5 separate regions of the Homo sapiens genome follow, and regions 2, 3, 4 and 5 are each linked to region 1. The links are contacts of gene promoters, found by promoter capture Hi-C in blood cells and fetal thymus (Javierre and others, 2016). All regions are on one chromosome and are shown on one strand. The core of a region is centred on a gene start or on the middle of the fragment in contact, and the rest is flanking DNA. Distances in the headings are between cores, read along the strand shown. Region 1 has its middle 130 kb from the start of LZTS1. Region 2 holds the start of BMP1 (bone morphogenetic protein 1). Region 3 holds the start of REEP4 (receptor accessory protein 4). Region 4 holds the start of DMTN (dematin actin binding protein). Region 5 holds the start of NPM2 (nucleophosmin/nucleoplasmin 2).

Region 1 (2,700 bases), core at 121-2,620:
ACTGAAGCTTCCTGGTAGTCTTTGCTTGTAGTTTTTAGGACCTTTTGGGGTTGAAAAAGAGAGCTTTTTTTCTCCCACACTTTTTAAAAAGGGGAAAGGGGCATTTGCAAGGCCTGGAGTGGGGACGGGTTTATGCCTTATGGCCACTAGATGGCAATAGCCAAACGTGCGCAAAGCAAGCAGCCCGCAACCCCGCCGGCAGCCTCTCCCAGCATCTCTTGCCACGGAAGGCCTGGTGATGGGGGGAGGGTGGCGAAAGAAGAGGCAGGAAACAAACGCATAGGTAGGCAGGGGAGGGAGGCGTTTGAGAAATGGGGTTGGTCTGAAGCCGCACGTGAGGAAAGAGGTGTGGTGAGTGCAGGATGCTGTGCTGCCCCCACGCAGGGCTCAGCCTGCTCTCCAGTAGGGACCGGCCACTGGGGCCCCAGCTACTCTGTGAAGTCCTGGCCAGGTGAGGGTGGAGCACTGGTCTGGGCGTTACCACACCTGGTTCCTGCTGTGCTCAGGTGTGACCTTTGGGATGCTAGGTATTCATACAGGGAGAACAAATGGTTTCCTGTTTCTCAAGGTGGCACTGAGGAGGGGCTGTGGTTTCATTTGATTTCAGGGGTGTCCTGGGGTCAATGAGGCAGGGCATAGTGCGGAGGTTTGCATGAGGTTGCAGTTTAAATTTCCTATCATGAAAGCTGTCCCTCTGCCCAGAATAGCCTGGAGGCTGGATCAGCCTGTCAGTCAACCCATCCACAAATACAGGCAGGGGAAGATGGTGGGAGTTCAGTCAATATTTGTTGAATTGTGTTTAATTGAATCATCTCTGCACTTCAGAACCTTATGAGAGAGAGAGAGATTTGGAGAATAATTTAGTGCAAGACCATGGCTTACTATCAGTGGAATTGGACTTCAGAAAAAAAAAAAAAAAAAAAAAAAGAGAGAGATAGCATTAGGCTAATAGAATTTGAGGTAAGTCTTGAGGGTTTAGATAATAATAAGCTACAGGGTGACAGACAAGACAGGAAGGTCCTGGCACAATTAGGATATTTTACCTGTAGCGATTGAGGGTTCATGTTACAGTCAGCAAGAGAAAGTGGGCCTAGGTTGAGTGTGGGTGCTTAAAAGTCAGGCTGAGGAGTTGATTCTTGATACCAACGTAGTAGGGAGCTATTGCAAGTTCTTGAGCAGGATAGTGACTGGCTGGAAGTGTTAGTTGAGATAACTCTCAACTATGGCTCATGACTGGGAGGTGATTGAGGGCAAGGATGGTGGGTGCTTCTTTCCTAGGGCTCTCGCAGGGATCAGCATCATGCTTGGCCTTGGTAAAGGTTCACTAGACGTTGAATTGAATGGATGGGTGTTAGGATCCCCAAGGACATGGAGGCCAGCAATGGATGTCCTCAGGGGAGGTCAGCTTTCCTGGTGAGTGAATGGAGCAGAGCCAGGGTTGCCGGCGGGTTGGCAAGCGCCGCCCACGCCAAGCACCAGTTTTCCAAGGGCTGTTTTGTTCACTGGCTCAGCAGAGCGTGTGAGATGTGATCACAATCTTGAAATAACACAGACAGTCTCTGCTCTCTGCCACTTCCTATTCTGCTGATCCTCTTATTTGACAATACCTAAGAAACACCTACATCTTCCTCTCCTCCCAGACCAGCCCACTTGTGGGAATCTCTGCAGTCTGAGGATGTCAGTGTAGACGGCACCCTGCCAGCAATCCCCCTGCCTGGACGGAGGTGTCCTCTGGGGTGGAGAGAGCATGTAGAGTCAGTCTTAGCCAAACAGTGGTGTGGGTGACACATCCGGGTGCTTTCTGGCTTTCTGCCGTGGTGGCAGGCGGGGCTGTCTGAACCACACACTGTTTTTATGAAACAGCTTTCTCTTTTCAAGGGCTCTTACGTTTGCTTCCATTGCTGGTCTTGGAACAACTCTCAGGTTGGTATCATTTCATCCATTTACAGTTGAGCAAACTGAGGAGTGGCATTGGTAGGTGAGTTGCAAGAGATGACACTATTCCTATACTGGGGACCTGAAGATGAGCTCCTGCCATCTCACACCAAGCCCTGTGCCTGTCCTGTGAGGCCCTGCAAACTGGGCCCAGGCTATGTGAGCAGGGTGGGGGACACTAGGCCAGTCCAAGCCACCATACCAGTGCTCAAATGTGGAGGTGGTGAAGCCAGGTAGGACAAGGAGAAACATCCCCAGGGTGCAGGAGCACAGTAAAACATGCATGTCGGAACCCTCATGCTTCCTAAAAGCCAGGCTTTTAGGGCCAGGGCCAGGCTCAAGAGTAGCCTGATCTTTGGTGTCTCTGGAAATCAGGTTGTCAGAGAGATAGGATCCTTTGTGGAATAAGAGCCAGGGGTCAGGAACACTCAGGTATCTGGCAAAAGAATGAGTCAGTTATCAGTCAGTGAACAGTCACTGAACACCTACTTAGCACAGGTGATGAGGAAGACATGATTCCTGACCCCAGTGGGGACAGAGACAATGAAACCAGCAGTTACAGTATCATGTGCTGTTTATGGTAATAGGGGTGCATAAAAATGCTGTGGGAGTCTGAAAGAAAGAGTAGTTCTGTCTTCTCTGGACTGATGGGACTTCAGGAGTTTGTGACAGAGGTCATGTCATGGACGTAGATCACAGATAGGGCAAGGAGCTGGGCATGAACAGCACAGAGTCCTTGAATGTGCCACCATAGCTGCTTTTCCT
Region 2 (2,700 bases), core at 1-2,500, 1.7 Mb after region 1:
GAGGAGCGCTCGCGCTGACCAGGCGCTGGGGCGTCCACTGAAGCGGGGTCATCCAGGCAACTCGGGGGAGGGGAAGCTCACAGACCGGTACTTCCCACTCCCCTGATTCTCTCTGTCCATCCTCAACATTCCTTTGCTTCACAGGGTCAGTGGAAGCCCCAACGGGAAAGGAAACGCCCCGGGCAAAGGGTCTTTTGCAGCTTTTGCAGACGGGCAAGAAGCTGCTTCTGCCCACACCGCAGGGACAAGCCCTGGAGAAATGGGAGCTTGGGGAGAGGATGGGAGTGGGCAGAGGTGGCGCCCAGGGGCCCGGGAACTCCTGCCACAACAGAATAAAGCAGCCTGATTGAAAAGCAAAGGGTCTGCTTCTGTCTTCCTGCAGGGCGCAGTCCTGCCCTGGCGGGGGCCGGCCAAGAAGGGAAGGGCCTTGGGAGAGCAAAGTGGGGTTTGCCATTCGCCCTCTGTCCCAGGGCGCTGGGGCACTGGGTCCACCTCGGCGGGGGAGAGGGGCTCGCAGGGAGCCATCCACGGGCTTTCGGCGCCCTCCAGCGGCGTCTCCGGAGGAGGGAGAGACACCAAGACAGCGAGAGAGACAGAGCGCAGAGAGCGAGACGCGAGAGAGCGAGGGTCCAAGAAGGGGAGATAGGGAGACGCGGGCGGAGAGACCGACCCGAGGCGGGGGCGCGGGGCAGGGGCGGCGCGAGGACCTGACAGCGTGTCCCGCGGCGGGGCGGGGGCTCGGCCGCGCGCCCGCGGGGGAGGCCGCCGCTAGAGGGCACTTCAGGAGGGACAGCCCTCCCGGCACCCCGGGGCCCGAGCTCCAGCCCCGGCCTCGCGGCCCGCGGCCCGCGGCCCGGGCGGCCCGAGCCCCCTCCCCGGGCGCGCGGCTCTCCGCCTTCCCCGCCCCGGCTGGCGCGCGGCCCGGCCCGGCCGAGCACTGTCCCGGCCCCGAGGGGGGCAGAGCTCGGGCGAAAACCCGCCCTCCAGCGAGCTCATTTCCCTAAAAAGGGGGGGGGGAGTCGGAGGGAGGGAGGGAGGGAGAGAAAGAAAGAGAGAAAAAGAAGGAAAGGGAGAGGGAGACGGCTGGAGCCCGAGGACGAGCGCGGAGCCGCGGACCGAGCGGGGGGCGGGAGACAGGAAGGAGGGAGGCGAGCAGAGGGAAGGGGAAGAGGTCGGGGAGCGAGGGCGGGAGCGGTCGCGGTCGCGATCGAGCAAGCAAGCGGGCGAGAGGACGCCCTCCCCTGGCCTCCAGTGCGCCGCTTCCCTCGCCGCCGCCCCGCCAGCATGCCCGGCGTGGCCCGCCTGCCGCTGCTGCTCGGGCTGCTGCTGCTCCCGCGTCCCGGCCGGCCGCTGGACTTGGCCGACTACACCTATGACCTGGCGGAGGAGGACGACTCGGAGCCCCTCAACTACAAAGACCCCTGCAAGGCGGGTGAGCGCCCCCCGGCCCCCCGGCGACGGGCCAGGCGGGGAGGCGCGGGCGGGTTCGGGCTTGGGGTTGGGGGAGGACAGTCCAGTGTGGGAAGCCGGGAGCTGCCTGGTTGGCAATGCAGTGGGGAACAAAAGAACGAGGGGGAGAGGGAGGGGGATTTGGGGGACTTTTCGGACTGAAGTTTTGCCGCTGTTGGTGGAAGCTGCTGCCGCTGCCTCTCATCTTCCCAGAGGATTCCAGAGGAAGTCTCCTTGCGTCCCGGGAAAACCGGCGGGCAAGGCGGCTTTTCCTTCTGTAGGAAACTTTTCTGGCCAAACTCCTGTGCGTGCGTGTGTGTGTGTGTGTGTGTGTGTGTGTGTGTGTGTGTGTGTGTTCTTTCCCCTTCTCCCCCATCTCTCCTGCTCCAGGAGCTGGGTGTTTTCCAGCCTGTCTGGGCTGCCCTGGGGCTGCACATCTGTCTGGCTTGGATCTGGGAGGCCTGAGTCTCCAAGGAGCAGGTCCCCCAGCCACCACCCAGCCCAAGTGGAAGAAGAAAGTTTTTCCAGGGATTCCCTGAGATCGTGCTCTCTGGGTATCCCGTAGTTTAACCAGTAGCTGAAGCTTTCTGGGACTTAGGAGACAGCTGTCAAAGTCAGAGAAGCCAACCCAGAAGGGGGACTTAACTTTGTCCCTATGTGCCCAGAGACCCCCGCCAAGGCCAAGTTGGGGTGGAAAGAGGGAAAATACAAAGAGAACCCAGATATTGTATATCAGCTCTGTCACCCCCGAGACACCAGAGGCTAATTAGCTGAGGTCAGGACCCCGGAGTGTGTGTTTGCCTGTATGTGTGTGTGTTCTTTGTCTCTGAAGACTCTATGTAACCCCATCACTCCTGCTGAGCCCAGAAGGGTCCTGCCCCTGGAGTGACCAGATGGCCAGGCACTCGGGCCATTTGCCTGATTGGATGACCCTGGGCAGGCTGTTTGGGGACACACAGGGACAAGATATCAGAACTTTTCCTTGACTTCCTGCCTCTCTGACTTCAGCTCATCTCCAAATAGCCAGAGCCAGGGGAAGTGGCATAGTTGCTAGAACTGGACTGCCTGTGTGGGGCACCAGGGGCGGAGGGGCAGGTTGCTCTAGTCCTGGCTCTGGAGACCCTGTTCAGGGACTCTCCTGGGAGGGTGGCCCACAGGCAGGAATAAGAGACCATCCAATGGAGGAAATCAGGGCAAATCCCTCAGCCCTTACCCCTCTACACCTGCTGGGCTGCGGGTAAACCAGGACAT
Region 3 (2,700 bases), core at 136-2,635, 1.7 Mb after region 1:
CAGGATGTGCCACACAGCCTTGCCCCTGGAGGAGGGAGAGGCCAACTGAGACCCTCCCCACCTCACCAAGTCCTATTAAACACACCCAAACCCCCACGCTCACATATTCACGAATGTTCTTGGTCTTCACAGCCTTATAGGAAGCATAAGCTGGACACAGCATCCCAAACACCAGCCTGGAAGAGCAGCCATGGGGAGTGTGAGGGGCACCATGCCCCACTCCCACCTTGCCAAGTGGCCATTTCCCCCCACTGGGGTGCAAGGTGGCAGTACCCGCCCTGTTTTTCTCGCTTGGCTTGTACAACCCGTGCCTGAGTCAGAGCCCTGGAGGCCACCTCCCCACCCTGCTGTTTACAAACATCCCAAGCCTGCCCAGGCCTGCACCGGTGGCCCATGGGTGCATGATGGAGTGAGAGGACAGCCACTCCACGAAGTGGGTGAGAACACCAGACTGTCCCCTCCCATGGGCATGCAATCAGGCCCAGGGTCACCAGACCTGACACTGCTGGGTTGCAGATAGGGCTATGTGAGCCAGATGTTGGCATACTCAAAGGTGAGGAATAGGATGGTGAGTCATGTGACTGCTCAGATGGCAAGCAGGCACCTGGATTCTCCGCCCACAACGTGCCATATCACCTTGTGTTTGCCAAGGGGCAGCAAGGTAGGCCTGTGGCCCTCGGCTCCACGCATCTGTTTGCAGTGTGTGTGGCGTGCGGCAGGGGTCGTTCTCAGCCAACGAGGCTTGGTGGGGCGGGTAGCCTGCGGTGCCCCAGACACCGCGTGCAAGCCCACAGGTCCGTTAACCCTTGCATGGAGTGCTGGAGGGTGGAGCTCAGAAAGTTCCTCCTCCCACTAGACGTCCACAGCTTCCACCACAGGGGCGGGACGGCACCCCGGGGTAGAGGAGGTCTGAGGGCGGCCATACTCACACCACCAGGCGACAGATCATCCAGGACACCATCTTGCCGGCCTTTGGGACGTGGGGAGGACCCCAGGAAGCCGCTCAGAAGGACGTTCACTCAAGGGCTGGGACGGGGGGTGATCAGGGCAGTTGCGGGAAGCAGAGGGGCGATCCGGCTGTCCCTCGGCGGAGGCAGAGCCCGCCGCCCACGGCCTCCGACTGTGCAGTTCAGGGGACCTGGAGAATGGGGAGACCCGAGGCAAAGCGGCCCCGGCGGGGAGGAAGCCGACTTGGGAGCGGGCGCGCCCCGCGGCCGGGGCAGTTACAGCTCCCACCCGCCCTTTCTGCCGCGGAGAACCTGGCGCTCGGCCCTTGCTGCTGGTCCCGCGCTGGAGCGGGTCGCCGCGGTTCCAGCGCGCCGGGCCACCAGCACCGGCCTACAGGGCGGAGTTCGCAACTCACTTGAAAGTTGCACGGAACCGAGTGCTGCCCAACCCCAGGGCTCCGGCTTGCCACGCAGGCGCAGTGTAGCCCCGGAGGGGGCGGGGCGAGGTCAGGGAGGCGAGAGGCCGGCCCCTTAAAGGGGCGATGTGCCGCGGGACTCGCGCGTGGGGCCCACAGTGGAGCCACCTTCCCAATCGGAAAGATTAGCGTGTGGGAAGCTGTAACAAAAAAGCAGGGGGAGTGCGGGGGTCGGCACACAAAGAAAATCTGGACTCCAGAGTTTAAGCGACCCTTCACTGGCTTTTCCCGGTGTCTTTCCCTCTCGCCTCATTTTCCCCTCTGTGAACCGGGTAAAGGCATGAGATGCGGTTGGTGGGGTAGAGGGAAGGATCTCCTCTGCAGGCTCAGTCAGGAGCTGGAAGGAAGCTTGGCTGAGCGCCAGCAAGTCCGGGTCTCACACCAGTGGGTCCAGGAGGGAAAGGGGGGAGGTGTGGGGGGAGAGGGAACCTGAGGGACTTTTTGCCCCACCAGGTTTCAGGGGTTCCCTTCTCTCTGGGATGCCTTTCCAGATCCCTGACTCCGGGGCAGGCTGACCGCGATGATTTGAGGCATTCTGGGTAGAGCTCTCAGCTCCCACACTCCTTCAGCAGAAGTTTGAAATTCCACCTATTCCTCTGAGCCAAGTACACAAATAACCCTGGGCCCTTAATAGTAGTATCAACCATTGCCATTTTGTAATGCACGTTTGCACGCAAGGTCTTAGTCTTTGCAAACTTCTTTTAACCATGTAGGAAATAGGATGCTCAGTGGTGAAAAGTAACTTTCCTGGTATCACCCAGTGGTATTTATTGCTGGCTGGTGGCTACATGCTTGGCTTGATCAGTCTTCTGAGAGATCAGCAGCTGCAGGCTGAGTGGCCCTGCAGAGGGCCATGGAACCGGATAAGTTCCTCTGGGAGGGAGGCAGATGCCAGGAAGAAGGGGGAAGGCTCTAAAAAAGAAGGCAAACGTTGCTGCTTCTACTACTTGCCCTGTGAGGTTTCATTCTTTTTGACATCTTCAGCTTACTGCCTCTGTTGTTCCCTCTGAAAATAGTGTCCCCCCACCTTGCAGAGGGTGGGAGCAAAGCTGTCCGGGCATGTGGGGTGGAAACACAGGCAGTTACTGCTTTTTATTGGAGCCACAGTTAACCCCCACCAGCTATCATAAGGATGGAATAGGTAATCATGGGGCCAGGGAAAGGAGGCTTCTGGGGGATAAATAAACACACGGTGATTATATGGTCTTAATTACTGTCATCAGTTTTATTGGTATTGCTGGGTGTGAGAGCCAGCAGTGAAACCAGCCCACAGGAGA
Region 4 (2,700 bases), core at 151-2,650, 1.6 Mb after region 1:
TCTCAGACTCTGATTAGAGGGAAGTAAGGGTGGGGTTGAAGGTACAGAAAGCCGAGAGGCTGGGCTGAGGCCGGGCTGGTTGTGGAGCGATGGCTGGAGTGGCTCCTCCTCCAAGGCTGTGCCCCTTTCTGCCACATTGAAGGTATGCCCCCTCCCACATCACTCTCCTGGCCTTTTTCTCTGCAGTTCCATGGATCTGATGCTTCATCCCCCACCCCCAGGTTTTCTCTACCTTCACAGCCACCCCCGCCTGGCTGCAGCAGCTCAGCCTGTGTTCTGTCTCCCTTCTCAGCCACCTGCCTCCTTCCTTCCTCCCTTCTCTCTGGAGCCCATCCCTCAGGTTACTGTCCTCTCTGTCCCCACCAGCCAGATACTTTCTGTCCCCTCCTGGCCTCTTCCCTCAAGCCCCTCCCCCTGTGCTTCTCCATTCAGACACCCCAGAGCCCCCTCCCCAGATTCTAGATTTCCCCAACAACAGCTGATACCATCAGCTGACCGGCTGGGGGCAGGGTTGCCAGGGCAACGGTGAGGGCTGCCTAGGTAGGCAAGTCTGCGGTGTGGAGGTGGAGAGGACATTGGGGCCAGGGCGAGGGTCGAGGGCAAGGCTTGTTGTCCTTCCCCATCCTGCCCAGGGGGCCCGAAAGGCCAATGAGAGGCTCCTGGGGTGGTTGAGGCTTTGCTAGAGACAGGGAAGGCACATGCCTGTAAATTCTGTGCTGGGACCCAGGGGTTACCAGGCAGGAAGCTCCTTTTTCATGAAGCCACCCTAGGGAGAGATGGGGTCCTTCTCTCTCTCTGCTGCATCCCATTGGAGTTCCCAGGGGATTCAGGTTACTGAGGGGCCAGCTCAAGTCTCAGTACTGAGGACCTGGTTGCATCCCTCCATTCTACCCTCCCAGGAGAGAGCTCATCCTTGGGTAACCAATTCTGGCCTGTGCCTGCACCCCCACCTCAAGAGGCTGGGCCCCAGAGGCCTCAGTTGCTGCTGTCAGATGGTGGGGTGGTCATGAATAGGGTAGGAGGTGCAGGTGCCTGGAGAAAGCAGGCATTGTCCGCCTGGGTCATCAGTAGCCCCCTCCCTCGACCCACCGCCCACAGCAACTTGAACTCTGGCTGTTTAGGAGGAGGCTGAGGGGCTCTGGGTGCGTGTGGGTGTGTGTGTGCGTGTGAGTGCTGCAGACTGCGGTGTGGGAAAGGGAGAGGACAGTGCTGGCTGATTCTGCTTTGTCATGACGCTGGGTTAATGCTCCTCTTGTTTGAAATGGATTGAGCTGCAGCGCTGGTGGAAGAGCGCGCACATCCACACACACACCCTTGCCAGCCACACGCTATCAGCTGGAAGTGGGGAGGGCGCGGGGAGGGCGTGGGGGAGCCAGCAGCCCGCCCGCCCTCCCGCCCCCAGACGAGGACTCCCCAGCACCGGGGGATCCAGGCGGCCGTGCGTTGCAGAGAAGCAGGGTGGGGGCAAGGAGGGTGGGGGCCCAGAGGGGAGATCAGACCGCTCAGCCGAGACCAGCTCCCCTCCTTCGCCAGCTCCCACCCCGCCCACCCACCCTAAGCCGGCATTTTTCCTGTTATTTGTGCTCCGGGGAAGCGCCGCGGGGTTCCTGGAAGAGACACCTATTACCTAGGCTCCTGGGGGAAGTGACAGCCCGTGGATCTGGCCTACGCCTCTCGGGCCTCTGTGGCCTCAGAGCGTCTGGGCCACACTGTCTGGGAAGAGGTAGGTGGCAGGGTCTCCGCCTCTCCTCCCCTCTGTGGGCACTCTGGGCCACAGCGCTTGCTGGCGAGCCAGGCTTTGGGTGGCAGCAGGGTATCTGGGGGGAGCCCACTGTGGGCCCTGTTCAGTGGGAGGATGGGCCGGCCCCTGGGACCAGCTGGGCCTGATCTAATGGAACCTTCTGATCTGGGGAAGAGGGCCTGGGGTGTTCTCATCCCAAGGATGAGAACTGCTCCCAGCCCAATCCCCTCTTTGCCAGCATCTCTGCCTGGCCTACCTAGCTGAGCAGGCCAGCAATGGAAGGGATGGACTGTGGGGGCACGGGGTGGGCAGGGGAGCATTCCCTCTCTGCTGAATACTGGCCCGCTGGCCTCCCCAAAACCACTCCACATGCTCTGGGGGTTGGAGCAGTACATTTAGGGGCCTGAGGCTGTTTGTTTGGAGCCTGCTTTTTAGGGGGAGTGGGAGGAGAGCCTGCCCCCAGCCAGTGGCTGGCCAGGCTGGGGTGGGGCTGAGTGAAGAGTGAGGCTGTGGCAGGGCGCAGCTGCAAGCCCAAGCCCAGTACTCCCCCTGTGCCCGCCGCTGGGGTGCTTGAAGGGGCCAGGGCTGAGCAGACATGCAGCCCCCACAGGGTTCTGGGGCTCCCCCTCCCTAGCTCTGTCCCTCAGGGCCTAGCAGGTCCAGCCCCCTTTCTTGGGCAGACACACCCAGTGTGTCCCTTCCAGGGACCAGTTGCCTGGTTGTGAGAGTCAGGGGAGCAGGGACAGGTCCAAGACAAGGAAGGCAGTTGGGCTGTGGGAATGGGGAGCCCAGGGAAGGCCTCCAGAGCTGGGTAAGTGGAGGGCTCTGTGTATGTTGCTGTACACGTGCACTACTCTGGGATGGATGCCAGGGAGAGGACCGGTGGGTGGGTGTGAGCGGGTGTTGGCAGCACCATGTGTCACAGTGAGGGGGCCTCGATGGGAGAGTGGGGGCATGAG
Region 5 (2,700 bases), core at 1-2,500, 1.6 Mb after region 1:
CAAAGAAATGATAAATGTTTAGCCGGGCCCAGTGGCTCATGCCTGTAATCCCAGCACTTTGGGAGGCCTAGGCAGGAGGATCACTGAGGTCAGGAGTTCGAGACCAACCTGGCCAACATGGTGAAACCCCATCTCTAGTAAAAATATGAAAATTAGCTGGGCATGGTGGTAAGCACCTATAAACCCAGCTACTTGGGAGGCTGAGGCAGGAGAATCGCTTGAACATGGGAGGCAGAGGTTATAGTGAGCTGAGATGGCACCACCGCACTCCAGCCTGGGTGATGAGAGTGAAACGCCATCTCCAAAAAAAAAAAAAAAAGAAAAGAAATAATGTTGAAGGTACCCCAGTTACCCTGATTTGCTCATTACACATTGTGTGCAAGTATAAAAATATCATATGTACCCCATAAATATGTACAATTAATATGTATCAGTTTAAAAAGTTAATGACGATGGTACCAATATTATAGCCTCATTTAGCAGATGAGGAAACTGAGGCACTGAGCTATGAATTAACACACCTGAAATCACAGAGCACAGTCCAGACTTGAACCCAGACTGTCCAGTTCCAGTGTCCCAGCTCTAGGTCATGACCTCAGGGTCATCCCCCTCCCCTGCCTCCATTTAGCCTTCACTGTGACCCCCAGCTGCAGCCTGACATCAGTGTGATTATTCACGGGGTGGGTAGCCTGGGGCCACTGAAGGCCGGTTTGCTTTGAGCACTGCTCTCCAATGAGGCTGGAAGCCCTTTGAGGGGCTGTCGTATTCACCGCGGGATGCCCAGGTCCCGCCCAATTGGCGGAATCACCGTTTGTTGAGTGAATTCTTGAACGTCTGTGCATGGCATGCATGTGCCTGCCATTTGCTCATCTTTACCACACACTTGGCTGCAATGGCTGTCACCTTCAATAGGCGCCTTGCCAGGGACAGAGAGCTCAGGGACAGCCAAGGAGACTGGAACTGCTCAGCTGGGGATAGGGAGCCTAGGGGGCCCTGGCAGGCCCCCAAGCCTCTCCTGGGTTGTCCTGGCCAATTCACAGGGAGGCTGACCCCAGCTTCCAGGAATAAAAGATTCTGACCTCTCCGTGGCAATGAGCCCCTGTCCCAGGGGTGTGCGGGAGATCCCTGGTTATCTGAGGTGTCTCCAGGGTATATCCGCTGAAACCCCACTTCCTCTTCACTGCCCACTGAGCCTGGGACCAGCTGCTGGTCACGTGCTTGGCCCTGTAGCGTCGCTAGCCGTGCTCCTCAGTGTGCTCCCCGCCCCCTGCCGCGGCGCCTCGCCTCCCGGCTCACCTCCCCACCCCACCTGCCCGCTGCGGCTCTCCGCGGGAGATCTCACCGTTCTGGAGACAGGGCTCGCTCGCTCTCACGGTAGGCTGGAAGAACGGGCTGTCTGGGCCTTAGGAAAGGCCCATGCTGTATAAGGCATGGGGAAAGGAAAGGAAGAAAGGCAACGAACAAGAAGGAGGGCTTCCAACTGCAGCTTCCTGCCGGCTGCAGGCCTCCCTTCCTAAGCTGAGCTGAGGCTTCCTCTCCATGGGCTGGGGAGGGGGCGCCAGGAGGCCTCGGCGGGTCCGCAATTGGCCGGGACAGCTTCTCACGAAAGGTCCTGGGCCGGCATCATCAGCCTCACCTGGGAACTGGTTAGAACTACAAATTCCCTCGGCCCCACCCAGACCGACGCCAAGGGCAGCTGTGGAGTGGGGCGCGGCAATGCGCCCCTTAACAGCCCTCCAGGTGATTCTGCCGCGCAGAGGAGGAAAGAATGGGAGAAGGGAAGGGGAGAGGGAGGCGGCTTCTTTGCGACTAATTGGACACCTGCCCTTCCCCTTCCCAGGCTTCTTAGCCCGGGCTTGGACAGCCGCCTTCCGGCCAGAGGGGATGAGGTTGCGCTGCGCTCCGGGAGCGCCGATGGCGTGACTGGCCCCGCGCGGAGCAGCGACAGTAAGGCTGTGTGGGGGGAGCTGGGACCTAAGCCGCGCGCACACCCCTTTCTCTGCGTCTGGTGGAGGTGCACAGAGGCTTTTGAGTCAGGCCCAAGCGCAGCCAGGTGACCTCCCCGCGGCCTTTCAAGCCTGAGCTCGGTGGACAGCTCCCTCTCCCGTGAGTCCCGCTGTCCTGTACGCGCCCGGTCGAGCCCCGGGCTGCGCACCCCGCTAGGAGGTGGGTACTCGTCCTCCAGGAGTTGCCGGTGAGCCCTTGACCGTGGCAGGTCCCCTCCAGCCGCGAGCGACCCCTCAGTACCTGCCGATGCCTGCTGGTCTCTGGCATCCTCCAGTCGAGGGTCAGGGTCAGGGAGCAAGGCCTCACGCGGGCGCCCTCCTTGCAGCTGCCCGGCCAGCCCGCTTCTCTGCCCGGAGCCATGAATCTCAGTAGCGCCAGTAGCACGGAGGAAAAGGCAGTGACGACCGTGCTCTGGGGTGAGTGGGGACTCAGGCTCCTTCCCAGAGACACGCCCCACCTCCGGTGCGCGGCAGCTTGGGGCGCAGGTGAGCCCCTCCTTTGGGAACGAATGGAGGGCCCCACTTCCCTCCCTTTCTCCTCCGCAGGCTGCGAGCTCAGTCAGGAGAGGCGGACTTGGACCTTCAGACCCCAGCTGGAGGGGAAGCAGAGCTGCAGGCTGTTGCTTCATACGGTAGGTGTTCCCAAAAGAGGGGAGGAAGATGGTGTCCGGGAACTTTCTGGTCCCAACGGAGG

The links. Contacts are between HindIII fragments. The CHiCAGO score rates a contact against its expected background, and 5 or more counts as called.
Region 2: the fragment with the promoter of BMP1 here is called in contact with a fragment that was not itself captured in region 1 in 7 of 17 cell types (naive B cells, naive CD4 T cells, total CD4 T cells and 4 more); the score reaches 11.4 in naive B cells.
Region 3: a contact is called between the fragment with the promoter of REEP4 here and a fragment that was not itself captured in region 1, in 9 of 17 cell types (naive CD4 T cells, total CD8 T cells, total CD4 T cells and 6 more). The highest score is 23.8, in naive CD4 T cells.
Region 4: the fragment with the promoter of DMTN here is called in contact with a fragment that was not itself captured in region 1 in 2 of 17 cell types (naive CD8 T cells and non-activated CD4 T cells); the score reaches 5.4 in naive CD8 T cells.
Region 5: the fragment with the promoter of NPM2 here is called in contact with a fragment that was not itself captured in region 1 in 4 of 17 cell types (naive CD4 T cells, total CD4 T cells, naive CD8 T cells and 1 more); the score reaches 15.7 in naive CD4 T cells.

What each region holds. Positions count from the first base shown.
Region 1 is chr8:20,435,310-20,438,009 of GRCh38, forward strand. No RefSeq gene overlaps it. Among named protein-coding and RNA genes, the nearest start is that of LZTS1, 130 kb to the left of the region's middle. The HindIII fragment of the contact is 2,730 bases long and covers 6-2,700 here.
Region 2 is chr8:22,164,122-22,166,821 of GRCh38, forward strand. It overlaps BMP1 (bone morphogenetic protein 1), which reads left to right and starts at 1,251. Exons shown (of 20, transcript NM_006129.5): 1 at 1,251-1,432. The coding sequence starts at 1,285. It overlaps SFTPC (surfactant protein C), which reads left to right. Exons shown (of 6, transcript NM_001317778.2): 6 at 145-358. RefSeq lists a silencer at 507-1,546. The HindIII fragment of the contact is 3,783 bases long and covers 1-2,030 here.
Region 3 is chr8:22,140,522-22,143,221 of GRCh38, forward strand. REEP4 (receptor accessory protein 4) reads right to left here and starts at 1,386. Exons shown (of 8, transcript NM_025232.4): 1 at 930-1,386; 2 at 104-176. The coding sequence starts at 961. RefSeq lists an enhancer at 1-375 and silencers at 1,140-1,289, 1,300-1,429. The HindIII fragment of the contact is 1,867 bases long and covers 1-1,769 here.
Region 4 is chr8:22,055,414-22,058,113 of GRCh38, forward strand. DMTN (dematin actin binding protein) reads left to right here and starts at 1,401. Exons shown (of 16, transcript NM_001387751.1): 1 at 1,401-1,723. RefSeq lists an enhancer at 2,519-2,700. The HindIII fragment of the contact is 49,236 bases long and covers 1-2,700 here.
Region 5 is chr8:22,022,884-22,025,583 of GRCh38, forward strand. It overlaps NPM2 (nucleophosmin/nucleoplasmin 2), which reads left to right and starts at 1,251. Exons shown (of 10, transcript NM_001286680.2): 1 at 1,251-1,740; 2 at 1,841-1,947; 3 at 2,333-2,423; 4 at 2,553-2,638. The coding sequence starts at 2,366. RefSeq lists enhancers at 339-1,052, 1,053-1,765. The HindIII fragment of the contact is 16,503 bases long and covers 1-2,700 here.